Linked DNA regions of Homo sapiens: all the other regions are linked to region 5. The links are contacts of gene promoters, found by promoter capture Hi-C in blood cells and fetal thymus (Javierre and others, 2016). All regions are on one chromosome and are shown on one strand. The core of a region is centred on a gene start or on the middle of the fragment in contact, and the rest is flanking DNA. Distances in the headings are between cores, read along the strand shown.

What was found. Contacts are between HindIII fragments. The CHiCAGO score rates a contact against its expected background, and 5 or more counts as called.
Region 1: a fragment that was not itself captured here is called in contact with the fragment with the promoter of MINAR1 in region 5 in 1 of 17 cell types (endothelial precursors); the score reaches 5.7 in endothelial precursors.
Region 2: a contact is called between a fragment that was not itself captured here and the fragment with the promoter of MINAR1 in region 5, in 1 of 17 cell types (endothelial precursors). The highest score is 5.4, in endothelial precursors.
Region 3: a fragment that was not itself captured here is called in contact with the fragment with the promoter of MINAR1 in region 5 in 1 of 17 cell types (endothelial precursors); the score reaches 5.1 in endothelial precursors.
Region 4: a fragment that was not itself captured here is called in contact with the fragment with the promoter of MINAR1 in region 5 in 1 of 17 cell types (total B cells); the score reaches 5.2 in total B cells.

What each region holds. Positions count from the first base shown.
Region 1 is chr15:79,860,203-79,865,561 of GRCh38, reverse strand. The region is part of intron 3 of ST20-MTHFS (ST20-MTHFS readthrough); the gene reads left to right. All of the region lies in intron 2 of MTHFS (methenyltetrahydrofolate synthetase), which reads left to right. Among named protein-coding and RNA genes, the nearest start is that of MTHFS, 34 kb to the left of the region's middle. The HindIII fragment of the contact is 2,633 bases long and covers 1,822-4,454 here.
Region 2 is chr15:79,843,083-79,849,074 of GRCh38, reverse strand. ST20-MTHFS (ST20-MTHFS readthrough) reads left to right here. Exons shown (of 4, transcript NM_001199760.2): 4 at 3,633-5,528. The coding sequence ends at 3,865. MTHFS (methenyltetrahydrofolate synthetase) reads left to right here. Exons shown (of 3, transcript NM_006441.4): 3 at 3,633-5,528. The coding sequence ends at 3,865. Among named protein-coding and RNA genes, the nearest start is that of MTHFS, 51 kb to the left of the region's middle. The HindIII fragment of the contact is 8,304 bases long and covers 1-5,992 here.
Region 3 is chr15:79,823,464-79,828,818 of GRCh38, reverse strand. It overlaps LOC124903536 (a long non-coding RNA gene), which reads left to right. Exons shown (of 2, transcript XR_007064730.1): 2 at 1-4,767. Among named protein-coding and RNA genes, the nearest start is that of MTHFS, 71 kb to the left of the region's middle. The HindIII fragment of the contact is 2,720 bases long and covers 1,151-3,870 here.
Region 4 is chr15:79,803,274-79,808,942 of GRCh38, reverse strand. No RefSeq gene overlaps it. Among named protein-coding and RNA genes, the nearest start is that of TRC-GCA5-1, 61 kb to the right of the region's middle. The HindIII fragment of the contact is 238 bases long and covers 2,237-2,474 here.
Region 5 is chr15:79,428,785-79,433,984 of GRCh38, reverse strand. It overlaps MINAR1 (membrane integral NOTCH2 associated receptor 1), which reads right to left and starts at 1,649. Exons shown (of 4, transcript NM_015206.3): 1 at 1,445-1,649. The HindIII fragment of the contact is 3,334 bases long and covers 1-2,541 here.

The DNA of each region.
Region 1 (5,359 bases), core at 1,889-4,388, 430 kb before region 5:
TTGCTGCCCAGAGACCCATCGTTACGATACGTATACCTGCTCCTCCTGGCTGGGGGCTTGACTGCAGTTCCACACTGGTTTCCTTCCGGCTCTTCCCAAGGCAGCCATTTCTTTAACATGTATTTCATTATCAAATTCCCTTTTTCCTAAATTATATCTTGCAGAAATACCTCGAAGTTTCCGACTTAGATATGGCATTCTTTCCTGGTTTCTAATCATAATAGACATTTTTCCCAAGTTTGTTTTCCTTTGTTCATTTCACTGGAAATGAAAGTAGAAAGTCAAATATTTGTGCTAAGGTCTTTATCTTGAATTTTAAGACTTATATTTAAATAATGACAGTTTTACAAGTTCAGGTACATTTCCACTTCGTTTTCTTGTAATAGAAATTGTGTATCTTTATGGATCAAGGTTTTCTTTGTAAAAACAGTGGGAGTTACATTATTGATAACATTTTGAATTTAACCTTTTGAATCTGCAAAAGGTTGCTGTAATATTTTGTTTCATTGTGAACCTCTCCCCTGAAACAAAGAGAAAACACATCACAATATTTGGAAGTTTGCCTGGAGTGAACGTTTATTTTTTTGGGGTGTTTTTCTTTTTGACTTTTTAAAAAACAGTTTTTGTTGTTTAAAAAACTGCAAATGCCAGCCATAAAAATATTCTCTATTCCATCTGCCTAAGGCCAAAAAGAAATCAGAATTAGGCAAATGAAAATCAGGAGCTGAGCCCAGTGATCAATTATGTCCACTCTGCCTTTTTCTTTTCCTTTCTAAAGTGTTGTATTTGTTCACTCACTTGTGTAACAAATATTCTGAGAGTCCTACTGTGTGTGACACTGTGCCAAGCAAGGGGGTACTAACTTGTCATAAGCCTGGACCCTGCTTATGAGTCAAGTTTCTTACACTATATTGAAGTAAGCACCAGAAAGCGTGTACAGGTCTATGAAAGCTCAGTTTCTGGACATTTACTCTCAAGGACTTTTTTTTTTTTTTTTTTTTTTTTTTTTTTTTTGTTGAGATGGAGTCTCACTTTGTTGCCCAAGCTGGAGTGCAGTGGCGCAATCTAGGCTTAATGCACCCTCCACCTCCCGGGTTCAAGCGATTCTCCTGCCTCAGCCTCCTGAGTAGCTGGGACTATGGGCGCGTACCACCACACTTGGCTAATTTTTGTATTTTTAGTAGATATGGGGTTTCACCATGTTGGCCAGGCTGGTCTCAAATTCCTGACCTCTGGTATTTCGCCCACCTCAGCCTCCCAGAGTGCTGGGATTACAGGTGTGAGCCACCGTACCTGGCCCCAAGGACTTTTTGTACAGAGACAGTGACATGGGTAAATTATTAGTAGCTACCCTTTGTCTACTAAGTGCTAAGCCTTATGCTAAGTGCTCTTACATATGTAAGCTTATTACTCATCATGACTATGTTATTATCTCATTTTCACAGTTGCAGAAAGTAAGTCTCAGAGCATTATTTATGGGCATGCCACAGTCAAAAGGCAGAGCCAGGTCTTCCTGCCAGGTCTGCTTTCCCCGAAGGCATGCTGTTTGTGGGATGGCACACGGTGCCTTTCCTTACTGCCGTCATGTGCTGTGGAGGCGAGTAAAAGGAGGGCATGCTCAGGTTATCAGTTAGAATCAGATTCGGCTGCATGTAGCAGAAAACTCCAAAGTATCAGTGAAAACTTCAAAATATCAGTGAGATGCTTGGAAAAGAAGTCTGGGAGTTGTATTTATAGTCTGTGGCTGTTGTACAGGCCCCACAGTCATTAGGGACAGATCCTGCCGCATATGCCATATGGTCCTGCCTGGTATCTCAAGCTTCGGCTATCAACTCTGAATTGTAGTCAGCAGGAGGAAAGAGAGGGTGTTGGGAGAAAAAGAGCATCCTTCACCTTGAAAGTCCCATTTGTCAGAACTTAGGCACAAGGTCATACATAACTACCAGGGAAGGTGAGAAATGTGGTGTTGCGGTGGGATTCATGGCCTCCTGAGTAAAGTTTTCTGCTACTAAGGAGAAAGAGAGAATGATGTCCAGATGGGCAACCAGCAGCCTCTGCTGCATTCAGCTCAAGGCAGGTTGTGATTTCAGTTGGTGTCATGGCCTGAGCTGAGGCTGGAGGCCCACGTTGTGAAGGGTATTGTATGTCACACATCTGGGATTTGAACTTTATTTTGTAGGTGCTGGGAGTTAGTTATTGAAAGACTTTAATCATAGGAGTAACATGACTAGTTCTATGTTTGGGAAAGGTTGTTCTGCCAGAAATAAGGAGGACAGGCTGTCCCAAGGGACAGCCAAAGAAACTGGGAGTGGACCATCCCTTGGGAATCTGATGGATTCGAATGGATGAGAAATGATGACCACTTTTAGAAATGGAGAGGATAGAACAAGTTCTGACATATGCAGCATGTAGAGTCTCCAGGCCACTTGAGGCTGTTGAGGGACAGTCTGGCTTTGCCATCTGCATGTCATGCTCTTAACCTAGGCAAAGAATGCAGAAGAGAGAGGAGATGTAGGGGGTTGGGGGACACATAGTGAATCCCGTTTGAGGTGGCTCCAGGACCTCCCAGAAATGCTGGTAGATGGCTAGTTGGATATATAGCTCTGGAGGTCAGGACATAGGAGATATTGATTCAGGACTTGCCAGAGTATGGTCTTGGGGTGTGCCCTGATATTACAAACAGGGATCTTAGTGGCTAGGTGATGAGGCCATGGCAAATGTAGATGGACCAAGATCAATTTGCCTTTCTAGATGAGGTTTTCTAGGTGAAATGTTTTTGAAACTATTTTGTAGCCTAGTATAATTTATAAAAGTAGAGAGAAACTATAAATATAAATTTGGAAGGGGTTAGCTAAAAGGAGAAAACAGCAGAATCTTCATATATATAGAAATGGATATTAATTTGCTAGAATTAAGAGACTGCAGGTAAAGATAGTTTTTTTAATACCTCTTTTTGCTGTAGAAAGGACAGGATAAAATGATAAAGGGATGCTGGAATGAGGAATGGTAACTTTAGGCAAGATAGTCTTCTGTGAGGGCTGATATGATCAATGAGAGTAAGACATTAGAAATACAAGAATTGTCCTGCTGCTCACCCATCAGCATTTTCAGTTTCTCCTTGCAAAAGTAGTAATTAACTTTGTACTTTGAGCTGTATGTTCAGTTAGTGATAAACCGTAGATAAAAAGCAGATTTAATTGGCTGACCCCAGGTAAGACTTGCCTCTCTCATGTACCCTTTGAAGGTTTAACAAATAAAATTTGAGGGAAAGGTTGATGTTACTTATAGGGTGTGTTAGTTAGTTTTTTGGGGGTGGGAAGGAGGCATATTTATGTGCAAGCTGCCAAATATTTGAGATAAGGACATAGTCTTTGAATGAAAAACAGGGATATGAGAGGATTGATTCAGTTAGCCGTCTTGGCCAACCCAAGTTAACTGTACTTCATCTTAGTCTATGTTGGTGTTAGAAACAACAAAAAGGAAAAAAAAAAGCCAAACAGTAGAGCAACAATTCATTCATTCATAAAAGTAATTACATGCCATCTAACTAATCACATGGTAAATAATTTAAATGGTTTAGAAGGGTATGAAAGAAAAAGTCCCACCCCTCTTCTTCCCAGCCTGTTCCCCAGATGTGACCACTGTTAACATACTTGTGTATCCTTCTAGATATATATATTTGTATCCTTTTAAAAAATTTATACAGATAGGATCGGAGTTCACATTTTGTTTTGCATCCTACTTTTTCACTTGTTGATAAACCATAGAACTCTTTTCATAGCAACACATATAGATTTAGCATAGTGTTTTAAGTGGTTACATAGCATTGATGTGCTCTAAGTTATTTAACCAGTCTTCTGTTGATAGCTATTTGGGTTGCTTCTGTTTTTTAGGTATTACAAATAAAAATAAAAAAGAACATCCTGATAGATATTTTTCTGCATAGTTATGCAAGTAAGTCCATGGGATCAACATCTATCCATGAAATGGCTATGAATTCTAAATTTTTATAGGTGTTTCTGTATTGCTTACTAAAAAAGGTTATGCCACTTTACGTACTCATCACCAACACATGAGAGTATGTTGACCTCTCCCTGAGTGAGTGAATGGCCGAAATAACAAATGAACGTGCATTAATGACTACCAGTTGTGTGGTAGCCTCCATGTGATGCCCTGGAAACAAAAAGATAAATAAGGGGCAGTGGTGTCTGGCCATAGGAGTTCACATTTTGTTGGGGAAGACAGGTGTATGGAGGGGGACGATGGATAAGGAGTGGTTAGGATCAAGGTTTTGGTCTTAGGTGGAGTTGAGTCTAGTTACTGACTGCTGCATACTAGCTGAGTGGACATGAGTAAACCCCTTCACCTAAGCCTCTGATCATTTGAAAATGAGGGTAATAATATCTGCTTCACTAGATTGTTTTGAAGATTAAATAGGAAATTTACATAAAGCTTTTAGTACAATGCCAGTGCATATAAGTGCTTGATGATGATGATGACGACGATGACTATTCCACATGAACTAGTGATTTCAGTCCTGGTGCTAAGGATCCCATTGGGATGTGCCCAGAGTGCTCTGGGAACACAAGATGGAGATTTCTCTTTGCCTAAAGTGCATGAGAAGGCTTCAGAAGGGAAGTTGTAATTAAGTCTTTAACTTTGAATAGTGGTTTGCCATGAGGTTGTATCAGAAGGAAACATACCCCTTTTAATAAGTCTCTCAAGAAAGTACACTGTAACCGGAAACCTCATTAATATATTGAAAAAGTTATTCTCAGAAGAAATTCATTGTGGGCATCTGTGTGAATTTTCAACCTTGGAAGTAACTTAATTTTGTCTTATCAGTATTTCTGGTTTTGTTTTGAAGTACTAATCAAAAAAAAAATCCTTAAATTTTAATTTCTCCTTGCTTCTTTGAAAAGTTATAATGGTTAAAATACACTACTTATGAAAATTTCAAAATATATACTAAGCTTTCTAAAATGTTTTTTAACCTTTCTAATTCATCTTTTGTAAAGTGCTGTTCTTTGCCCCATTTCTTTCCGGGAATTTATCTTTCTCTTGGTATTCATTTATTTTTTTCCAGGTTGGTAACAATTCTTTATATATTAAAAGATTAACCATTAGTCTGTCATGTATGCTGCAAATAATTTGTATCCATTTTTTTTTTTTTGAGATGGAGTCTCGCTCTGTTGCCCAGGCTGGAGTGCAGTGGTGCGATCTCTGTTCACTGCAAGCTCTGCCTCCTGGGTTCACGCCATTCTCCTGCCTCAGCCTCCCGAGTAGCTGAGACAACAGGCACCCGACACCACACCCGGCTAATTTTTTGTATTTTTGGTAGAGGCAGGGTTTCACCATG
Region 2 (5,992 bases), core at 2,478-4,977, 410 kb before region 5:
ATTCTCGTCTTGCTTCTCAAGTGTAAAACTCATTTTGAAAAAGCAGCCATACAAAGTTATATTTTTATTATTTTATTTTATTTTTTTGCCTCTTTGAGCCAAATTTATGTACTTCGGAATTATTAAAATAGAGGATGTCATGCTAGGATTGATCCATTCTGCAGGCAAAATATTCATTTTTCAGGGTTTCTTTGGCCTAAAATTCTATTAAAATCCAAGGATGAAAGAGGAATTGGAAAAATTATGGCCCTCAAAGAAATTTTCTGTCCAGTGAGGGAGACAGAGACGTGTACCATCAACTGTGGTACAAGGTAGACTTCAGTGAGAGCTGTGATCAAAGTACAGGGAGTAACAAGAAAAGAGGGAGTAGATTAACTCTCGCTCAAGGGATTTGAGAACGTTGTTTTCTTATCTCTGTTTCATTTCTTCATTCTTTTCCTCCAACTACCTAAATGTGGATGTTCCAAACTTCTGCCTTTTCTTTCTTGTGTATTGTATCTGGTGGGAATCCTGACTATTCTCTTGGCTTCTCTTTTGGTCTCTTTGCTTTTTTAAATTTTTTATTGTGGTAAATAACATATAATGTGAGATCTACCCTCCTAAAAGTTGTAAGTGTCTGGGAAAGTATTGTTAACTGTAAGCACAGTTGTACAGCAGATCTCTAGAACTTTTTCATCTTCCATGAATGAAACTCTGTATCCATTGAATGGCAACTCTCTGTCTCCCCCTTTCTCCTGCGCCTGGTAACCATCATTCTACATTCTGTTCCTAAGATTTTGACTACTCTAGATACCACATGTAAGTGGCATCATAAAGTATTTGTCTTTTTGTGGCTGACTTATTTCACTTGGCATAATATCTTCCAGGCTTATCCATGGGTTGCATATTGCAGAATTTCCTTCTTTGATATGGCTGAATAATATTCATTGAATGTATGTACCACATTTGGTTTGTTCGTTCATCCATCGATGCATACTTGTTTCCATATCTTGGCACTTGGGAATAATGGTGCAATGAACGTGGGAGTGCAAATATCTCTTTAAGACCCTGACTTCAATCCTTTTGGATAAATACCCAGAAGTGGGATTGCTGGGCCATATGGTAGTTCTACTTTTAATTTGTTGAGGAACCCATATACTCTTTTCTTTAATGGCTGCATTATTTTACACCCCCACCAGCAGTGTACAAGGGTTCTGATTTCTCCACATCCTTGCCAACATTTGTGGTTTTCTATTTTTTGGATATTGGACATCCTCATGAATGTGGGGTGGTATTTCATTGAAGTTTTGATTTGTATTTCCCTGATGATCAGTGATGTTGAGTATATTTTCATATGCCTGTTGGCCATTTGTATGTCTTCTTTGGACAAATGTCTGTTTAAGTCTTTTTTTTTTTTTTTTTTTTTGAGACGGAGTCTCACTCTGTCGCCCAGGCTGGAGTGCAGTGGCGCAATAGCTCCACCTCCCGGGTTCACACCATTCTCCTGTCTCAGCCTCCCGAGTAGCTGGGACTACAGGCGCCCTCCACCATGCCTGGCTAATATTTTGTATTTTTAGTAGAGACGGGATTTCACCATGTTAGCCAGGATGATCTCTGTCTTCTGACCTCATGATCCGCCCGCCTCTGCCTCCCAAAGTGCTGGGATTGCAAGCATGAGCCACCGTGCCCATCCTGTTTAAGTCTTTTGCCCAGTTTTTAATTGGGTTATTTGGTTTTTTGCTGTTGTGTTCTAGGGGGTCTCTGTGCCTTTGACCCCAAATCTCCATGCCTGTACCTGGTGAACTCTACACTCATGTCTTCTGCTACTCCTCAGGTTGATCCTTCTGTCCAAGCGAGTAAACTGCTCCCCACTCCCTACTCCCTCACTCAGCTCTTGCCACCTTTCTTTTGGTTTCTGAAAGATACTTAGACCCAACTCTGACACATCTTAAAAATCCAGGTCAAGTTGAGTTTTCCATGAATTCTTCCCTGACCACCCAGCGTTTGCTCTCCCCCTGCTGGGGTCTCTAGTATTTGTCCCTGTTGCTTTTGGGGCATTTGGCAGAGACTGCTGCCGTGCATTGGAATGGAAATTACATGCGGTTATATTTTGTACTAACTGAACTGCCATTTCATGAAGGGAAGAGACTGTGTGTCCTCCAGAGGACCTTACAGAGCACCTTGCCATACTGTAAAGAGGCAGGAATCCTTAGAAAGGTTTGCGCATTGTGTGTTCTAGGTATAGAAGACAGAACTGAACTTCAAGCCTGATGGTGCTCTGGCAACAGAAAGAGGACACGAGGGAGTAAAGTCCAAATTCACAGTCCACTGTCAATCCCAAGAGGGACAAATGAGCTGGACAGGAACAGGGAGGAAAGACAGAGGTCAGTGACCAGGACCTTTTTAGAAAGTTGGGATTGGAATAGACAAGGAGGTTTACAGGGGAAGGTCATTACTGTAATCTGAGGCATGCTTTGCTGGATTTTGGCAGGCAGGGGTGACCAGGTGTATGCTGGGAGCTAGAGAGAAGCTGAGTTCACCTCACAGTTCTGCAGGTAGTCAGAATATCTGCTGATAGTGGGGGCTAGCCATGTTGGCAGTCTGATCCTCTCTACTCTGAACATGCTGTTCTGGAGAATTCATGGCTTCCAACCCTGGTATATCTTGCCAGCAAATGCTATATGAATGGTTATTCCACAACTAAGCTATAGGTCACCCAGAAACCCCCAGGACAGCTGTCAGGAGGCCAAGACTCAGTATAAGGAGGCTACAGGGCAGACTACTGGGTTTGACATGTAATGTGGCTCTTATGCTGACACTGGTACCCCATGTTTCTTGCCAGAGGCTGGAGTACCATTCCCTCATGGAGGTTCTTCACCTAGTGACCTTCATTGCCATCTTCATGGGAATCCCCACACACCCTTACTGCAGTTGGGTTTTTATAGCCTCCAGGACCCTGCCTCCCACCCTGAGCTCCAGCATTCTGTCCTGATAATGTCATAGCCAGTTCTGGTCTTCGTGTTACTTGAGAGGGTTGTAGCCAGAGAACTAGTTGTGGGTCCCCATCTTGTACCTTTCCTTGAGTAGGTCAAAGCCTGCTCTCACACGAGTCTGGGGAAGCCCGGCAGCCTGGCCTTGCCTCTCCAATGGGAGGGGAAATGAGGAGGGAGTAGGCTGTCTGAACTGCTTGGTATGCCTGACAGTGGACTCTCTTTCTGCTCACTGACCCTGAGAAACAGCTTTGTCCTTTATGGCTCCTCCTTGACTGTTTCCCGCCCTCCAACTGTCATTATCCTGGGGTATTGATTTCCAAACCTGACAGGTATGGAGAATCACCAGGATGCTAGAAAAAAGAGGGCCCTATCTCTGGAGATTCTCTGTATTTAACTAGTTATGAATGAGGCCTGGGAATCTGGCACTTTTGTACAGATATATGTAAAAGATCTGTTGAGGATGAATAAGAGACTTAACTAAGTTGCTGAGTACGTTTTATTTCCTTTTTTGTCCAACTCTGTGCTTTTTGGATATTAATGGTCACACATTGTTTTTAGAAATCAGAGAAAGAATTGATGTCATTACAAAACAAAAAACACATCCTGAAATGATCTTTCAGAAACAATTAATCCTCTTAAATTTGTTCCTCTTTTCCGCAGGGGGACTTGATCTCATCTTCATGCCAGGCCTTGGGTTTGACAAACATGGCAACCGACTGGGGAGGGGCAAGGGCTACTATGATGCCTATCTGAAGCGCTGTTTGCAGCATCAGGAAGTGAAGCCCTACACCCTGGCGTTGGCTTTCAAAGAACAGATTTGCCTCCAGGTCCCAGTGAATGAAAACGACATGAAGGTAGATGAAGTCCTTTACGAAGACTCGTCAACAGCTTAAATCTGGATTACTACAGCCAAATAATCAGTGTTTTATATGAGAGTAAAGCAAAGTATGTGTATTTTTCCCTTGTCAAAAATTAGTTGAAATTGTTCATTAATGTGAATACAGACTGCATTTTAAAATTGTAATTATGAAATACCTTATATAAAACCATCTTTAAAAACCAATAGAAGTGTGAATAGTAGAATATTAATTAAAATGGAGGCTATCAGCCTGTGATTTTCAGCTTAACTTCCTGGTGTTAATGTGACAAGTTGATCTGTCTACTTTGCAATTTAAGTTAAATATTTATGAGGAACTGTGCTCCGACTGAGTGCGAGAGGAAGGTAAACTTGCGGGAGTGGGCACTGTATTTCATTACGCCTTTCATGACCTGGTCTGTCCTGGCAGGCACATGGAGACTTGGGGACTATTAATTTATTTGTTGGTATTTGCTTTGGATACAGAATTCCCTAAGAATATTATCTCACTTCATCATGACTTCCTTTACCCACTCTAGAATTTTATGTTGGACACTTTGTAGCTTTTGGTGGTTAGTGGAGGGAAACCTTTTATGATTTAAATACTTTTACTCCACTGATTGGTTACCATCACTGCATGTATCAGCCCTTGATGAGTTTAAGATCTAGTATCTTATAAGTTAGAAATTATTTCTGTTTACTCATGGTTTCTGCTTTGGAAATGAAATTTGCTGTGAGTTGAAAGTTGGCAGATGGCAACACAGCTAGGGAGCAATAATTTTGTTGTGGGGAGGATTTGGTCATCTCCAGAAACCCGGGAGTCACGTGGCTCTCTTACTCACACTCCATGTCCATCCTGTCACCAGGTCTTGTTGATTTTGCCTCTGAAATGCCTCTTAAATCTATTCTCTCCTTTCAATTTTCCTGTCACTCCTTTTGTCCAGCCTTTTAGCATTTCTAAGCTGGACTAGGCGAGAGTGTCACACCTGCTTCCCTTGGCTTCCATCTTGCCTCTTCCAGTTTATTTCTCAAGCTGCAGTCAAACTGATCTTAGAAAACACGAATCTAATCATGCAGCACCCCTGACTAAGGTCTTCCGGTGGCTGTTCAGAGCCTCTTGGGTAGCAAACAGATGGCTTCTGTTGTATACAAAGCCCCTTAAGAGAGGTCTCCTCATCTACTTTTTCTAGCCTCTTCTCTCCCAACTCTGTATTCTCCTGTAACACTGACTGAGCACTGCAGGCTTCTGCCCTTTGCACATAGTAAGCATGCATTTCTCTCTGTCTGAAATGCTCTTTCTGTTGTTCATCTAGAAGACTGTTTTCCCTTGAAGACTCAGCCCTAGCATCACCTCTTCTGTGAAGTCTTCTGCTACTTTCCCAAGCAGAGTGAGTGTTCCTTCCCTTGTCTGAGTGGCCTTGGCCATTGATGTGCTTATCATGTTGTCTTACGTATCAAATTATTTGTTGTCATATCTGTCCCCTTCACCATACTGTGAGCTCCAAAGAAAAGAAGTGATCTTTATACTTCTTATGCTTAGTACACAACTAGACATATAGTGTGTGTGTGAGAGAGAGAATTTTTTAATGAAATAATTGAATACATTGGAAGTGTTTCATTCAAAATACTCATCCATTATTCTTTGGATAGTAGCATAAATTTGATGTTTTATGTACAAAAGTAAAAACATTTGAAAAATATCAGGCTGAATATGGGTTTGTACAATATAATATGTATGATGAGGAAAGGGAAGGAAACTGAATTCTCAGAAGCTATGAAGTCACATTATTGTACTGGTTAAAAATATTGTTAAGTATTATTTCGACTATAAGGTTAAAGTGAATGTTAATGTAGCTGACATGACTGTTGGTGTGAAATGGTAGAGCAGTAAAATTCCTGACCTGCTGCAGGTCTAGAAAGTTTGGCATTGTTGAACTTAGTCTATGTTATTCTTCTGTTAAATGAGAGCATTTAAAAACCACTCTACCAGCTCCTCAAGTGCAGACAGAATGCCGAGTTAACTGGCCAGAAAATGCAGGGTGCTGAGATTCAGGAAAGTCAGAGGGCCACAGGATCTCGGCCTGAAAAGAGAAGCACTCCCTAGTGATCACTAATGCACAGTAGTCTTTGTGCAGGGATATTGGAAGGGAGAAAATGCCCCTAT
Region 3 (5,355 bases), core at 1,261-3,760, 390 kb before region 5:
GTGCCTAAATGTGGTTTTCTTTGAACTCCTCTAGGGTTCATAACACTTCTAGAATCTGTGATTTGATACCTTTTGTCAGTGTTGGAAAATTCTCAGTCATCATGTCTGTAAAAATTGTTTCTGACCCATTTGTTGTTTTCCTCTCCAGGACTCCAAGTACATGTATGTTGGACCTGCTTGCCATGTCCCATTATGTCCCATACATGCCCCTCTACTACCACCTGTATTTTCCATTCATTTTTTCCTCTCATTCTTTCAGTGTGGATATTTTCTATTGACCTATCTCTGAATTCACTAATCTTTTTATCAGCTGTGTCTAGTTTGCTATTAAACCCATCTATTTAGTTCTTAGTTTTAATTATTGTATTTTTCAGTTCTAGAATTTTCATTTGATTTTTTAAAATAGATTTTAACTCTTTGCTAAAATTAATTTCTTGGACATATTAATCAGTTATTTTGAAAGTCTTTGTGTGATCATTCCAACATCAGAGTCTCCTTAGAGCTTTTTCTTTCTATGTCTATTTTTTCTCTTGGTTTCTGGCCTTGCACATCTCCCAATATGCTTCATAATTCATTTATTTAAAAAAAGTTTGTTTTTTTTTTTTGAGATGGAGTCTCACTCTGTTGCCCAGGCTGGAGTGCAGTGGCGTGATCTCTTGGCTCACTGCAACCTCCACCTCCTGCATTCAAGCGATTTTCCTGCCTCAGCCTCCCAAGTATCTGGGCCTACAGGCACATGCCACCACTCCTGGCTAATTTTTTTTTTTTTTGTATTTTTAGTAGAGACGGGGTTTCACCACGTTATCCAGGATGGTCTTGATCTCCTGGCCTCGTGATCTGCCCGCCTCGCCTCCCAAACTGCTGGTATTACAGACATGAGCGCCACCACACCTGGTCTTGTTTTTGTAACTTTTTATTGAATGTCAGGCATTGTGTATGAAAAACTGAAGAGAGAATTTGAGCCTCTGGATGATGCTATTTTCCCCTTAGAGCATTTACTTCTTTCTGCTTTTGGAAGTCAAGATAGGGGCAGATTGTTATAATCCAGTCTGGGATTGAGCAGATTTGAAGCCAGTCTTTAGTTTTTGTGAATACTGGCTTATTTGGGTTAGTCCTTATTCCCAGGCTTCAGGAGTTCCTTCTGAAAGCTTGGGTTGCATACCAGGGCCGCTCCTTTTTGGTGATGGCTGCACTATTTTTGTTTCCCCAGGATGGTGGGGCAGCAAAGCTCTGCTTAGCTTTGTAGACTCCTGGCTGCCAGTTTCTACTTCATTTCTCCTCTTGGCTTCTTCACTGATCAGTTTCTACAAAGCACAACTTCTCAGCTTTTAAGTTTTTCTTAAGAATCAACAAATGCTTTGAGGCAAAAAGCTGTGCCAAATATCAGGTTCAGTTCTGTGCTTTCTTTCTCTCTGAGATCTTGGTGCCGTAAGACCTCACCACATTTGATAGCTCTCTGATGCGTTCAAACAGGGCATTTCTATTTGTTCTTGGTAGTAGAGTTGATCTGAATATATTAGCCTATCAAAGGCAGAAATGGAACTCCCTGATAGTGGTTTTTAATCTCTTTGGGTGATTTGAATGTAAGATGCACTGGACAAAATCAACTCCTTGCCACATCATAAGAACCACCTTAGTCTGTTGTTTAAAAATGTTGATTTTTCTGGTCCTATCCTAGATGTACTGAACCAGAATTTCCAGAAAAAAAAGACTGATTTGTTGTGCTAGCAAGTGCTTCTGACAAAGGCACACTTGAGAAGCACTGAATAAGTGGCTCTTTAGAGTCCTTCTTGCTCTGGTTGCATATTCTGGTGACCCTAGTGACCCCACCCACCCAATGAACCCTGTATATATAGTGGCAGGAAGGAGCCTGGTTATTCTGATATGCAGAGGGGCAGCATGCTGCCTTTACCACCACCTTCGACTTTAGTTTGCATTCTGTAACTCTCTCCAAAGAGAGAGTGGTAGCTCTCTTTGCTGAATTATTTCTAATTTTTTCCATGGACATTTTAATCAGAGATGACAAATGACTGGTCTTTTGCTAGCAGTTCAATCTAAGAGGAAGTTATTTGCCTCTTAGAGGTACATTAATTTGCGATGGCTTTCATGCAGAAGGCAGAGGGATATTGTGGAAAGGGACTTGGATTCTGGGAATCAGGTATAAGCCCAGGGTACTTGGCTTGGGAATTGTAGTAGTCACTTGCCCCTTCCCTTCCTCCCTCCACTAATGTAAGTTTCCTTTGCCTGCTTGAGGGTATCTCCAAATTAGGTTCTTTTCCAGCTGCCAGTGGTAGGACTAGAGTGCAGTTCTGACCCTGGTCTCTGGAACCCTTTCTCACCCCTGCTGGCTCCTCTCCAGTGGATTCCCCACTGTCCTGCACCAACTCCCTCCCCTTCGTCTCTCACCCACCTCCTTTTCTCCTTTTCTTCTCTTGTCCTTCCCTTCTCTTCTCCTCACCTCCACCCCAATCTTCTTTCCCCCGTTCCAGAATCAGAACAGAGGCAGTAGTGTCCTGTTGTGGACCCTCCCTCAACTGCTTCAGCCTTCTCCAGGACCAGCTGTCAGCAGAAGTGGAGCTCATGCAGGAGGGCAAAATGGTCCAATTCCTTTTCTCAGGGCTATCTAGCAAGACCAGTTCCTGTGGTTCTCTCTGGCTCATGTGAGGATGCTTCCCACTTTGGAGGTCTATGGTTGTCCTAGTCCGTGGCTACCCAGTAAGTGCTACTCAAATCAGTAGGAAAACAATGAAGTGTGCCCAGTGGTAAAGGGGCAAAGGACATAAACAGGTAATTCACACAAGAGGAGACACAGATAGCCACAAATATAAGAACTATTTAATTTCACATTTCATCAAAGAAATGCAAGCTGAAACCATGTGAGTAGTAAAAAATAATCAAACCAGTTAAGTTTGGGCTATGATGCAGGGAAATGGACACTCATACTGCTGGGAGAGTGTATGTTTTTTAGTCTTTCTGGAGAGAAAGTTGGCAGAATATAACAAAAATCTTATAATTTTCTATGACTTTTGACCCTGTCATTCTACTTTCAGGAATTCATCCCAGTGAAATAATGTATGCGATTTGCAAAAGTTCTATACAAGTATATTCAGCATGAGGCTGTTTTATTGTAATAGTGATGACTGCTGCTACCCAGTGAAATACAACCATACAATAATAAGGGGTTGCTACATTCATGCCAGTTGTACACTCTGTTGTCATTAAAAACATCATACACAAATATTTAAAGAGGAAGAATGTCCAAGCTCTTTTTTAAAAAAATAAAATAAAAGCAGTGTATCACAATAATTGTATTTTGGTGGGGAGGAACCAGCATAGAAAAAAGATCAATGGATGCAAAATGTTACCATGTCTGTCTTGTGTGTTTTATCATACACAAAAATCTAAGTAATATGATTATTAAAAAAGAGAAGAAGAAAACAAAAATACTGATTCCTAGCATGTAGGAAGACTGGCCTGCATTCTAGTCCTGAATTTGCCTCTTGTTCTCTGTGAGGCTTTGGACGGGTCACCTTGGCTCTTTTGATGGGCAGTTTCCTCATCTATAAAGCAGATCTGGCCACGCGTAGCAGCATTCATGTCTGTTCAGTGCTTTACCAGTCCCTTTGCTAACCATTGTTTTACTTTGATCTCACATCTGTGCCTTGTAGATCAGCACTTTGTGGGCTGTTGGCTATTTTACTATCACTTGATAATTCGGTATCTCCAAATTAGGTTCTTTTTCCAGCTACCAGTGGTAGGACTAGAGTGCAGTTCTGACCCTCGTCTCTGGAACCCTTTCTCACCCCTGCTGGCTCCTCTCCAATGGAGAAACTAACCTTATTTTCATGTACTGTGATACAAAGAAAAGCTTCTTAAGGGTTATTGGAAGGCAAGCATTTGAAGGAACTAGAGTAGCCTGGCTAATGACCTGGTGCAGTGGCTGAGTTACAGCTGGTCTGGAGGGCAGATGATCCACAAGGTTGGGTCTGGGGTCAGTTAGTAGTTGAGGATGGGGAGGTTGGGAGCAGGTCAAGGCGGGACCGGAACAGGCCTAGGAGAAGTGTTGAAAAAGCCAGAAAACAGTGATTGAGAGAACTGCTCCAGGTTGAGGGGATGCTCTAGGAGTGGTAGCTTTGCTGGAGGTTCAGCTCAGGGTCCTGGAGGTCAGATACCAGGACTTGGAGGCCTCAAGAAAAGAGTGGGGAGCCAGCCCAGCAGGGCTTAGCTGGGCAAAGGAGAGACGTTTTTAAGGTTGTGAGCAGGCATGACAGGCACTACTGGAGAGCCCAGAAACAAGGATTAGGCACGTGCAGGCTTACGTGCAAATTGCAAGTCTGCATTTCTGTAAAACCGACAACAATGGAAAATGTGTAATAGATGGACCAATCTAAAGATAGTCTGGAAAAATGACCTCACTTAAGGAAAAATCGAGCAGTTAACTTCCTGCTCACTAGCAGGTCGAAGCCTAATCTTTAAAACTGATGTCCTTATCTCAGAGCTCCCTAGGTGATAATATTAGCCCTCACTGACATGGTCTATCTTCTCCGTAAATACCTTTCCCTCTAACAACAACAATAAAAATGTAGCTTTCTAGCCCACGGGGCTGTTTTTTGTTTCCTAATATGCCCTGAACTGAACTCCTTGGTTTATGGAAGAAGCTCAATGTGAAACTGCAGATCGACTCTTTTATCACAATCCTTTTAATTACTCCACGTACCCAATTTTGTTATCCAATTATGGGTAAGATTAAAGTTCATCAAACTACATGTTTTATGTGAAGTTCCTTCATTTCCAAAAGATCAGTGGAACATTAAAGAACAAATGAAACAGTCAGTTGCAGATTATACAGGTTGATTTATCATTGATCTTCCATAAACAGCAAAAACTAGTTCTGATATTTTCCCCAGCATAATAGGCCTATGTATACAGTACACTGTATATCTTTTCATTTCAGCCTTGAAAAAAATATGATATATCCCTAGTGGGAGTCATAATTTCGCTGAATGTATAGTGCTTAAGGCTCCACAGCGCCCAGCCAGTTTGTTACAGCAGATGGATGAGAGCCCACTGTTTCATGAAATTGCTTTTGAATATTTGCAGGATGACCTTTTCCCACACTATCCCACCAAAATGCATTAACTCCTTCTGCACAAGATGGAAAAATGCTATGCCGAACCACGCTCCTGCAAGGTGAAACGTGACAGCCTTTAATATAAAACCTTTCCTGACATGTTCCCTGCTGTCAGAAACAATCTCTGTTTCCCAGAAGTTCCCTTTCAGAGAGAGGAAAGTGGAAGGAGCAGACAACTCCTGGGTGACATTTACCAAGGTCACGCAGCTGGTGTTGGGTGGTGC
Region 4 (5,669 bases), core at 1,106-3,605, 370 kb before region 5:
GAGACTCTGTCTCAAAAAAAAAAAAAAAAAAATTAAATGTAATTTCAGACTTAGAGAAAAGTTGCATGAATAATACCAAGAATTCCAAGATACACTTTGCCCAGATTTCCCAAATGTTATTATTATTATTTTTTAATATTTGCTTGCTTTCTCTTTCTCCCTGGCCTCCCATCTTTGTTTCTCTGTGTTTTCACATGGTTCCTTTCTGTATAGGCCAGTTTCTCTGACTCTCTGGTTAAGCACCGTTTAATTATAACTAGTAGCTCTGAGTTCCAATTTCAAATGGCTGGAGAGAATTTAACCGGTTCAGGTTAGGTTGGGTATCAGCCCCTGACCCAATCAACAGTGATCTTATTGTGTGGTTCTTTGAGAATAAATCATGGATGCATTTTCTAAGGATGAATTAAAGGGTAGGAGAAGAAACAATGAGTATCTGTTCTATAAAATATTAAATTATTTGAAACATTACAAGTATATATAGCTTTCCAAATGAGTACTGTTTTCTTACAGTTACCCGGAGATGCCAGATGCCTTTCCCCAAACCTATGTACTTATTTTATTCCTCACCCTAGGACTTGTCTTTGGGGAGCAGCTTTAGGGTCAGTTACTTTTCACTAAAAGAAAATCAGTATCTATTCTTAGTAGTCACACTTCCCTCTTTACTAAAGCGTGGTACTTTTTCACTTTTAATTCCTCGTGACAAAACCCAACTGGATATCTGAGAGTGCAGTTGGCTGTGGGCAAAACTGGGTTAAAGGCCGTAAACACATCTCTCTCCATCTCTTAGCCAGGGTTTCTCCATGTTGCAGCCCAGAATTCCCGCTCTGTCGTTCTCTCGGGGACAACTGGAATCTAGAAGTTCAAAGGTACTGTCATCTCTCTCTCTCTTGCTCTCTCCCTCTGTCTTATTTTTTTTTCTTTCTAGTCACCCCATACCCTACAGACAAGCCTTCTTAACATGGCTGTCATAGTCACTGGCAGCCCCAAAACCTGCAGTCTATGTTAGCCAGAATAATGGCCTCCAAAAGATGTCCATGTATAATCTCTGGAACCTGTGACTATGTTCCATTACCTGGCAAAAGAAACTTTGCAGATGTGATTAAGAATCTTGAGATGGAAATATTATCCTGGATTATCAGCTGGGTGGGTCCAATGTGGTCCTTATAAGAGGTGGGTAAGAAAGTTGGCTGTGTGTGATGGCTCACAACTGAAATCCTAGCACTTTGGGAGGCTGAGGTGGGTGGATTGCCTGAGCTCAGGAGTTCAAGACCAGCCTGGGCAACACAATGAAACCCTGTCTCTACTAAAATACAAAAGAAAATATCTGGGCGTGGTGGTGTGCACCTGTAGTCCCAGCTACTTGGGAGGCAGAGACAGAAGAATTGCTTAAACCCGGGAGGCAGAGGTTGCAGTGAGCTGAGATCATGCCATTGCACTCCAGCCTGGGTGACAGAGCAAGACTCTGTCTCAATTAAAAAAAAGAAAAAAGAAAGTTGAAGGTGGAAGAAGGAGAGGGAACAATGAAGCAGAACTTGGAGTAATGCCCTTTGAAGATGGAGTAAGGGGCCACAAGCCAAAGAATTTGGGAAGTCTCTAGAAGCTAAGAAAAGTGAGGAAAAAGATCCTCCTCCAGAGCCTTTAGAAGGAACCAGCCCTGCTGACACCTTGAATTTAGCTCGCTGAAACTGATTTCAGATTTCTGGCCTTCGGAACTATAAGAGAATAAATTCAAGTTGTTTCAAGCCATGAAGTTTGTTGGAATTTGTCATAGCAGCAATGGGAAATTGAGATACAACCTGAAAAGAAGAGAGACCTTTTTTCCAACATTGATATGCTAAATCTAACAGAGGTTTTCTGATTTGCCTTACTTGGATCATATACCCACTTTTGGAGCCAGACACACTGGACAGAAGCATGAGGTAGCATGAGTGGCCACCTTGAACTCAGGAGTCAGAAGAAGTACTTGTATTTGGGTTGGGGAGAGCCCATTCCATCACAGACAGAGAGTAGCTGGCCAGATGAGAGGACAGGTGTGCTCTATGACCCACTCTGACCTCCCCCTCCCAATGCAACCAGCCTATGCGCCAAATGACTGTTGAAAATCAACTCCATTCTTCGAGGACAAAGCCTTGACTGCAATGAGAACATTCAGAAGATTGTGCTTCAGGTTCACAAAGCTGTTTCTAGGGAAGACTATTTTGTGGTCTCTAGAGCACATATTTGAATGGAACAAGCTTCATTTGCATATGCAAGATTGGATATTTCCGTTGTAAATTTTTTTTTTTTTTTTTGGTCAAAAGGAAGTTCTGGGTCTATATTCAGAGCCTGCCATGTGCCAGCTTGGTAAAGTCTCTGAATTTCAGTTTTCTCATCTGTAAAATGGAGATAATTATACTTCCTTATGGGTTATTGAAAGGATTAGAAAAGGCGATTTATATAAAACCTAGCACTACTTAAATAACATACGCAAAGCTTAGCACAGTTGTTCAATAAAGAATTGGTATATTTGTCTTGTTCTATATATAAAGTAATATGAAATTAGTTTGTGAAAGTCAGACTGAATTGTGAGTGAGCTTGAGTTGTTAAAGCTATGTATCTCAGTACATAGATTACCATGAACAGGCATAAAATTTATTGTACCTTCTATATGTATATGTAGTGATTTTTTTAAAAGCTAAAAATCCTAACTCTTTTTTTCCTCTTCTTGTACCTGCTCAATTCTCTGTGGAATTTTTAGTGTTTTACCTGTTTCACAGAGTGTGATTGCCATTCGGCATTTGTGTGTGTGTCATTTGAAGAACATATGACTTTTCTGCTAGAGCGTAGATTCCGTAAGGATTGGAATCATGTCTGCTTTTTCTTACCGCCGTGTTCCCAGCGCCTAGGCCAGTGGCTAGCCCATGGTAAATGCTCAATAAATATTTGTTGAAGGAGTGATGTGCAGGGATTAAAAACAAAAGAAAGCTTGAGAGAAAACCAGTAAGGAGGCAGATGGGAGTGGCCAACACTGCTGGATGCTGCCAGGAGGGCAAGTATGATGAGGCCTGGAAAAGTGGGCTTTGGACTCTGGCAATCTGAAGGTCACTGGTGATCTTGATGAGAACAAAGTCATGGAGTGATGGAGGCTGGAGCTGACCCACAGCAGGCCGAGAGCAGAGTGGTAGGAAATTGGAGGAGTGTGGATGAATCTTCCTAGAATGGCAGGTGGCCAAGAACAAGCCACCCAGGACAAAGTTTACTCTTCTCCTATGGACACAAGTTTTCACTGTGAGCAGGGATCTCCTCCTTACCTACCATTTCCCCTGAAGCACAGCCCCAGGAACCTAGTGAATCTTCTCTGTTCCCAGTGGAGATGGGATACCAGCCTTTTGTGGTTGTGTGTACCTGGGATCGCCATACTGCCCTGGTGTATTCCTGCTCCTGGCTTTGTGACAACCCTCTGCTGATTGCTAGCAAGTGACAGCCTTGTCCTCAAGCACAGGTGGTACTCATGGGCGTGAGCAGTCAAGGGCTCTGGAGGCAGCCCAGTGCGCAGTGCTTCTTATCAAGGAGGCTAGTGTCGGATCCCACACCCACCGAGGGTGCTAATGTCCTGGGAAGGGTGGCACTGGGGTCTAGCTGGCCACCTGGAGTTTCTGTCAAGGTCTAGAACAGGAGCAAGTAAGAGTTGATGTCCACTGGTCACTTTCATATAAATACATTTGTCATTTAGAGGCAGGAACTCAGGATCATTTCAACTCTAAGGTACTGGAATTATCCAGACCCATGTTTGTATTTAATTGAATGACTTCTAGATTCACAGACCTTACAGATTTATCAAGTTCAGCATCCCCTGCATATCATGTGATGAAATCCCTGCAAAATAGCCTCAATCCTCTGACTCAGCACTTTCAGGACCAGGGGCCTCCCTGCTTCCCATGACAGTCAATGCAGTCTTTGGATTACTCCTCAACTAATGTTTCTGTCAAGCTCTATTTTTCAAAAATAGTTATTCCTTAAAAATAAAAAAGGCTTTTCCTCCTTATATTCTCCCTATTGCCTTTTCTTGAGCGATCCCTTCTTTCGCAATAGAAACAGAGCTACAGAACATGTGGTTGTTGAGGGGCCTCAGTCCATACCATTCACACCACGTGATTCGTATGAAGTTGGCCCCCTGTGTGCACTATGAACAGGCCTCTTTCTTTGCATGAAGAATGTCTGTACTGAGTGAAGGACTGTGGAAAGAAAAGATAGGTAGAAGCCTTCTAGACTGCTACGCAGTCTAAGAAAAATTTGGCAAAACTGTTGCGGAGTCCTAGAGCTACAATTAGACATTGGAGGGCTCACCTTAGTAGCCCTGCTGCGCTTAGTCAGTGGCTGGAAGTGGCTTTGGGAAGGTTTACCTGGGCTCAAACATGATAATATATTTCAAAGGCAGCCAGAGTCCTTGGTCAGTTGTTCTCCTTGTAGTTGGAGATCTGTGAGATGAATGCTCATGGCCACCATGTCACAGTCTCCCCTTCGGTGTCTGGGACAGTCAACAGCCTTGCAATAGGGAGAATAAAATGTTGGCCTTGTTCTTTCTGTAAAAGGGTGTTGTTGGCCACAGATATGCTCATATTTAGATCTAGAGTTCAGCTTTACCTGTACCTTACAGTGAGATGTTGCCTTTACTGAACTGTCCTCACCAGGAGAGAAAACTGCTACTTGCAGTGACTTTTTTTTTTTTTCTGGTGGCCACAGTTATGTGCTTATTAGCTCAAACTAGTGAGGAATGTAGAAAAATCACCACATACATGGTACATTTTGGTTCAAAGGGGCTTTCCATCCATTATCTCATTTGATTCTCAGCAAGACCTTGTGAAGTTGGTAGTTCAGGGGACCCCCATTTTACACTTGGAGAGACCAAGACTTAGAAAAGTCAAAAGAGGCCGGGCACAGTGGCTCACGCCTATAATCCTAGCACTTTGGGAGGCTGAGGTGGGTGGATTATGAGGTCAGGAGTCTGAGACTAGCTAAGATGGTGAAACCCTGTCTCTACTAAAAAACACAAAAATTAGCCGGGTGCCGTGGCGAGCGCCTGTAGTCCCAGCTATTTGGGAGGCTGAGGCAGGAGAATCACTTGAACCCAGGAGGTGGAGGTTGCCATGAGCCGAGATCGCACCACTGCACAGCCTGGTGACAGAGCGAGACTCCGTCTCAAAGAAAAAAAAAAAAAGTCAAAAGGACCAATCAAAGTCAATCAAAGTCACATGGTCTCTAAGTGGAAGAACTGGGACTCAAATCCAAGTGTCTCATTCCAGATCCTGGAATATTTCCGTGATAACCTGCCTTGGTGGAAGAGGACTTGGGAACAAGTAGAAAGGACTAGACTCCTCTTCCCGTCTTTCTGTATCTGGTGGGATTGTGAACAAGGAATATAGTTTTATATGGCCTTGATGACTTTTATATGGCCACTTAGTTTTAGATGGCCTTAATGACTCCAATGGGCTGTGCACTCATGGCAGCCTCAGTTGGCCAAAGAGGACACCTACTCTTCCATCTTCTCAGCAGCTGCACAGAGACAATTGACGTCTAGCAGCCTAGGGAACTGAGCATGGGAATCTCTTTGTACAGTCAGACGCATGTAGTGCTCTTCTCTGACTCCAAACCGAGGCTATTTAGGACTATTCACTCATTACCTTACTGCA
Region 5 (5,200 bases), core at 400-2,899:
CCGTCTCCTGCTCTACCCTCCTCTGATACACAAGAGGAAAACCCATTAAAGGGTATTGTACAACTCCAGGCATCCTACTCTCTCTAATCCACTTCTCTTATTTCAACAATACCCAAAATATTGCCGCCGGGCTCTCAATGAGGGTCAATTCAAAAGACATCCTGTGGCCACAGCAGTGAGCTAGCTTCCACCTGCAGGGCGGGCCCAGTAATGCTGGTGTCTGAGAAATGACAAGGAAGGGCCATTTACCGTCCCTCTCCATCAGAGAGAGGTAGCAGTGGCAGCTCGTTTGCTGGAATAAAGGATGCATAACTGGCCACATAAGCTGCTTCCACACTCCTCCTAGCAACTCTTCATGCCATGCATAATATCACAGAGCATAAAATTGCAGAGCCCAGCAATGAGGCCTCCAACCACAGCCTCAGGGATGGCGGCATGGTTCTACCACCTCCCAACCACATGGCTCCATCCACAAGAGAAATGGGTGAGAAGCCTTTAAGATAGATGTACATTGTTTATAGCAGAAACTCTGGATTTTTCCTCTCCTTAGATCTTCACCAAACATAACTTAATTCCCGCTGAATTAAGCGCACCTGAACACAACCTTATCTTCCCTGCTGCTTAACACAGGCTACCAGCCGCTTACCACAGTAACAATCTTCCAGCAAAACAATGCTGGAGTGCGCGCTGTGAGAGTTAGGCTACTCAAATGTTACGCTCCCCGCACCGCCGGCGAGGGGACAAATGACTACTCTGATGGATTCGGTAGCCCAAGGAAATTATCGCTTTCGGAGGGATGGCGGCAGAGCAGGTCGGGCATGCTGCATTTGCCTGAGTTGGACCGCGTGTGAGCGAGCTTACGCTCCCCGCGGGCCAGGCCCAGCTCCCGTGCTTTCTGACAGGTGAAGTTGAGCATCCTTATCAAACCCTCGGGAAGAACAACGATCCCATTCCACATCAACGTGACTGGAAATCTCAATTTAAGAATTGGATGCACCGGTCGGTCCACCTGGGGCTTGTCCAGCTTTCCATCTTACTTCGCGCCTCTGATGTGTCAGGCTTTTTGCACAGATAGCTCACATATTTAACCCTCAAAACACCGTTTCCTGAAGCGATGCTCAACCAGGAAAACTTGCCCCAAACTGCATGATCATCTTCCGTGGCTTCTCTTCCCGAATCCCTGCTCTGTCCACCAGGTGCGGCCCCGCCCCGCATCCGCACACACCTTTTCCGCCGCTGCCCTGAGCGCAGCGACAAGGGCCCCCACACCTCCGCGGCCCGCAATGCTCCGGGGCCAAGCCGAGGCAGGGAGGCGCTCCCGCAGCTCCTGACTTTACAACCCGCGCGCGTGTGCACCGAGCCGCGGGCACACCGCGAACACACACACACACACACACACTCGTGCGCTCCCGCCCTCCGCCCGGCCCGGGCTCTCCGAACTTACCTCCGAGGCGCCCCGGGCGCAGGGCCCGCCCTTCTCTGCGGGTCTCCAGCGGCTGTTCGGCAGTGGTCCGCACGGCCTCCGATGCCGCGCCTCCGGTAGGCTCCAGAGTCAGCTGGTCACTGTCACCCGGCAGCCCGGATTCCGCGCCCAGGGTTGCACCCCGCGGATGGAGCGACTTTCGCCTCCGCCGCCCGAGTCCAGGTCTGCGCTCACACGCGCGGCGCTCACACGCGCGGCGCCCACCTGGCTGCAGTCCCGGCCAGGGCCAGCGCGCCGCGGCTGAAGGGGGCGCTCGGACTCCTCTGGGGCGGCGCGCAGCCGGGACAGTCTCGCATGACGCCCGCGCTCCAGCGGCCCCGGGACGCGGCCTCACCCTCAACCCCTGGCGGTCTCAGCCTCGGTCTTTGTGTCTCGGTCGGCGTCGCCACGTCATGGGCTTGCAGGCTGGGAGCAGCGCGGGCCGGGAACGCGGCTGGGGAGAGCTGGGCTGGGCTTCTCCACCGCCGCCCGCCCGGGGCGCTCAAGCTGGCGGGGCGCACGGGCAGCAACTGAGCGCACCCTGGGGGACCGAGGGGGCGGTCCCGGGGAGGGGCGCGGCGTCGCGCCAAGGGGGTGCCCTGCCAGAGGCTGCGGCGGAGGAAAGTGGGAGTCAGAGCGCCGCCGGAGCCCCGGGAAGGCGGTGTCCGTTCGGTCCCAGGTCGCGGCTGCAGCGCCGAGGGGAAAGCGAGCGGAAGCTGCGCGCTGGAGGGAGCCCACCACCCGGAGCCACCCGCGGGGTTCGCGTCTCCCCACTCCCCTATGCTGAAGGTGACTGCGGCCCCCAGTGGCAAGCAGGGGCGAAGAGTGTCCTCGGCTCTCCTCTTCCCAGGGAGCACTCGGGGCTTCGGACTCTGCAGTGGTTTGCAAGGCCAGGGCCAAGTGGTCACTTCACTCACTGATTTCTTCTTTTGGCTGGTGTCGGCTTAATTGGGATCCAGATTGGAAAGACTGTCACGTGACCACCCCTCCCTGTTTCTCTCCCCCCCCACACACACACACATACTCACTCATTCACACACCCCCAAACCCCACGAAACTGGGATGGGTTTCCAAAAGCTTACTGGATACATGGATCAGAAATGGAGGCCTTCCGTGTCACCCTGTGTGCTGGAGTGGAGCCGAAACACAGCAGCTGCCTCTGGTGGCCCCATCTAGACAGATCCTGTCCCTGTGGCTGGGGAAGCTCACGTTAACAGCACTTTGCATCCCCAAGACAAGAACAACACAAACAAAAAGGGTGAGGGAGGGAATCATAGTTTCGGGGCCATGGAATCTCATTTCAAAAGGAAAGCAACACCCCCACCCCCACCACCCCACCTCCTTCCCTGCCACCGAGTTACCGAACAGAGCTGCTAAGGAGCATACCTCCCCAGGGACAGAGCCCTCTCGGGGGCTGTGGCGGCTTTTCCCTGGCCAGCTTCTCCCTGACATTTGCTACCTGTGATCGGAGCAAAGGCCCTGGGGGGACGCAGATCTCAGTCTCAGCCTCCCTCAGCTGTCTGGATGTGGGTGGCAACAACGCTTTAAAAGTGAACTTGCAGCTAGTCCCAAGATTCATTATCTGATTCTATTTTTTGGTGCATGTTCAAATTTTACCTAATAAAAAGTTTTTTAAAAACAAAACAAGCAAACAAAAGTGAACTTGCTAATAAATGGATACTTTAAATAACGCCCTATCAGGGTGATACGTGTTGACAACTAGATTTTCCCAGAGCTCCTCTCTGCCCAAGTTTTTAAAATCCATTTGCCTTTATTACCTTATTGTGAGGCAAGTTCAAACCTATTCTAGTAAGGGCAAACGGATTTGAAAATGTAAAGTAGGAGTGAAGTTTGTTTGATTCACTGTACCTTGCCTAGTGATTTTAAATTTGTAAGTAGTGCTGGCTCTGTCTTTGGGTCCCAATATTGTTTGTGGCAAAAGGGAGCATAAGCTTAAGGAGTAAAGGGGGTCCCCAGGGTAAGAAGCCTGTTTGGTAATAGCTAAAGACTGTTTGGGGGCCTCATTGTCCTTTGAGTTCAGGGGCAGATTATTTGAGACCTGAACAAGTATATATTTCTCCCAAAACCGAGAACAGTTGAATCCACATGGAACAATTAGGACAGGAAGCTGCGTGGGATCTGCCTTTTCTTTTGCTTTGAGTTCTTCTTTCCTGTTTTTTCTCCTGTTTCTTCATGAAATACTACCACAGAGACCACATTCTAGAAGGAAAAACCATAGCTTCCTGAAACTCAGATTCAGTAAAAATCTGCTTTTCCCTCCCTTAGTTCAGCTGAGGTCGGCTAGAGGTTTATTTAATTTCTTTCTGAAATAACCCTTTTGGAAAACAACTTTTAAAATTTGAAACAGCATAAAAGGAAAATGCAGATTAGAGCTTTCTGATCCTACAGTTACTCAGTTCCAGCCAGAGTTGGCTAGTGGTGTTTACAGACACAAAGGATTCAAGTGGTTGCCCTTTTCCCCTCCTGGCTACTGATTTCTGTAAGCCTGCCCCAGAAGCCCTCATTCAAGCCTTGGGAGGTATTCCTCTCACTTGTGGCCACTCACCCCTCCCCAAGTGGACACAGATACAGTAACACCTCAGCCAGGTGCTGTCTCCTCCTATGCCCCCCTCTCTGGGAAGAGGCTGGAACTTGGACTCCCTCTCCCGTTGCACACACGCACAGTGGACATCTTTGTGCACAGCCCATCTTCCCCACCTGGGGAAAAGTGAAGGTTATTTGTCTGCACTACTCACTGCACCAGAGTGATACTAAATTATATTCACCATTTATCTATGGACCCAAGGCATTCAGTTTGCAGGGGCTGGGGGATGACGCGAATTCATGGCACCACCCTCCCAGGATAAGTAGTTTAAAAAAATGTTTTGGTCTGGGCAATAGAAAGAGACTGACGATGAGATGGGAGACTGTGCACCAGATCACGAAGACAAGAATAGAATAAGCATCCAGAAACTATCCAGCCTCCACATTTTCCTCTGTTTCTAGTGGTGTCCCACTCAGATCCGAAATTTCACTTCATAATATCATTGGCAATGGTGTGAAAACCCAATGTGGTGTAAAAGAAACAGCCTTGAGTTTGGAATGTGAAGACATGGTTTTAGACATTTGATAAGTGATATAAACCACCTATGTGAACTTGGACAAATCACTTGACCTGGTTTTGGTCCTCTAGCATTTAAATGGAGGGTTCTACTTAAATTTAATATTTGAACCCAGAAACATGGACGGTTTCCATCTTACAGGATCGGAGGTTGATTATGAAACCTAATAAATTGATGAGGTCCATGTGATCCAGTCTCAATAAGTGTCCTATTCAATGAAACATAGTCCAGCAGCCAAGAGAAATGTATCATTAATCAAATCCTTCATTTGAACTTCTTAGAGACTAACATCCTCCTCTCTCTCTAAGCCCTTCTTATCTCAGCTGCTTTAAAGCTCCTCTTTCTCCAGTGCCCCCCAAATTCTCTCTAAATACATAACACACATCTTTCTTCATCTCTCCTTTCCTACCTCCTCTCTACTTTTCTGCATTGTGTAGAGCTATGCATTTTCTCTCTCCTGTCTTTAGGGGAGGGAAGGGGAAAGGAAAACTGTGGGCAAAATCAGAATTCTCTTTAGTGATAGAGGTAGGGGAGAAGACTGTGACCACTGACACATTAATACTTTTTAATCCATCATAATCAGATCTCCTGTGGTACATTTTAGATGTATTGAACT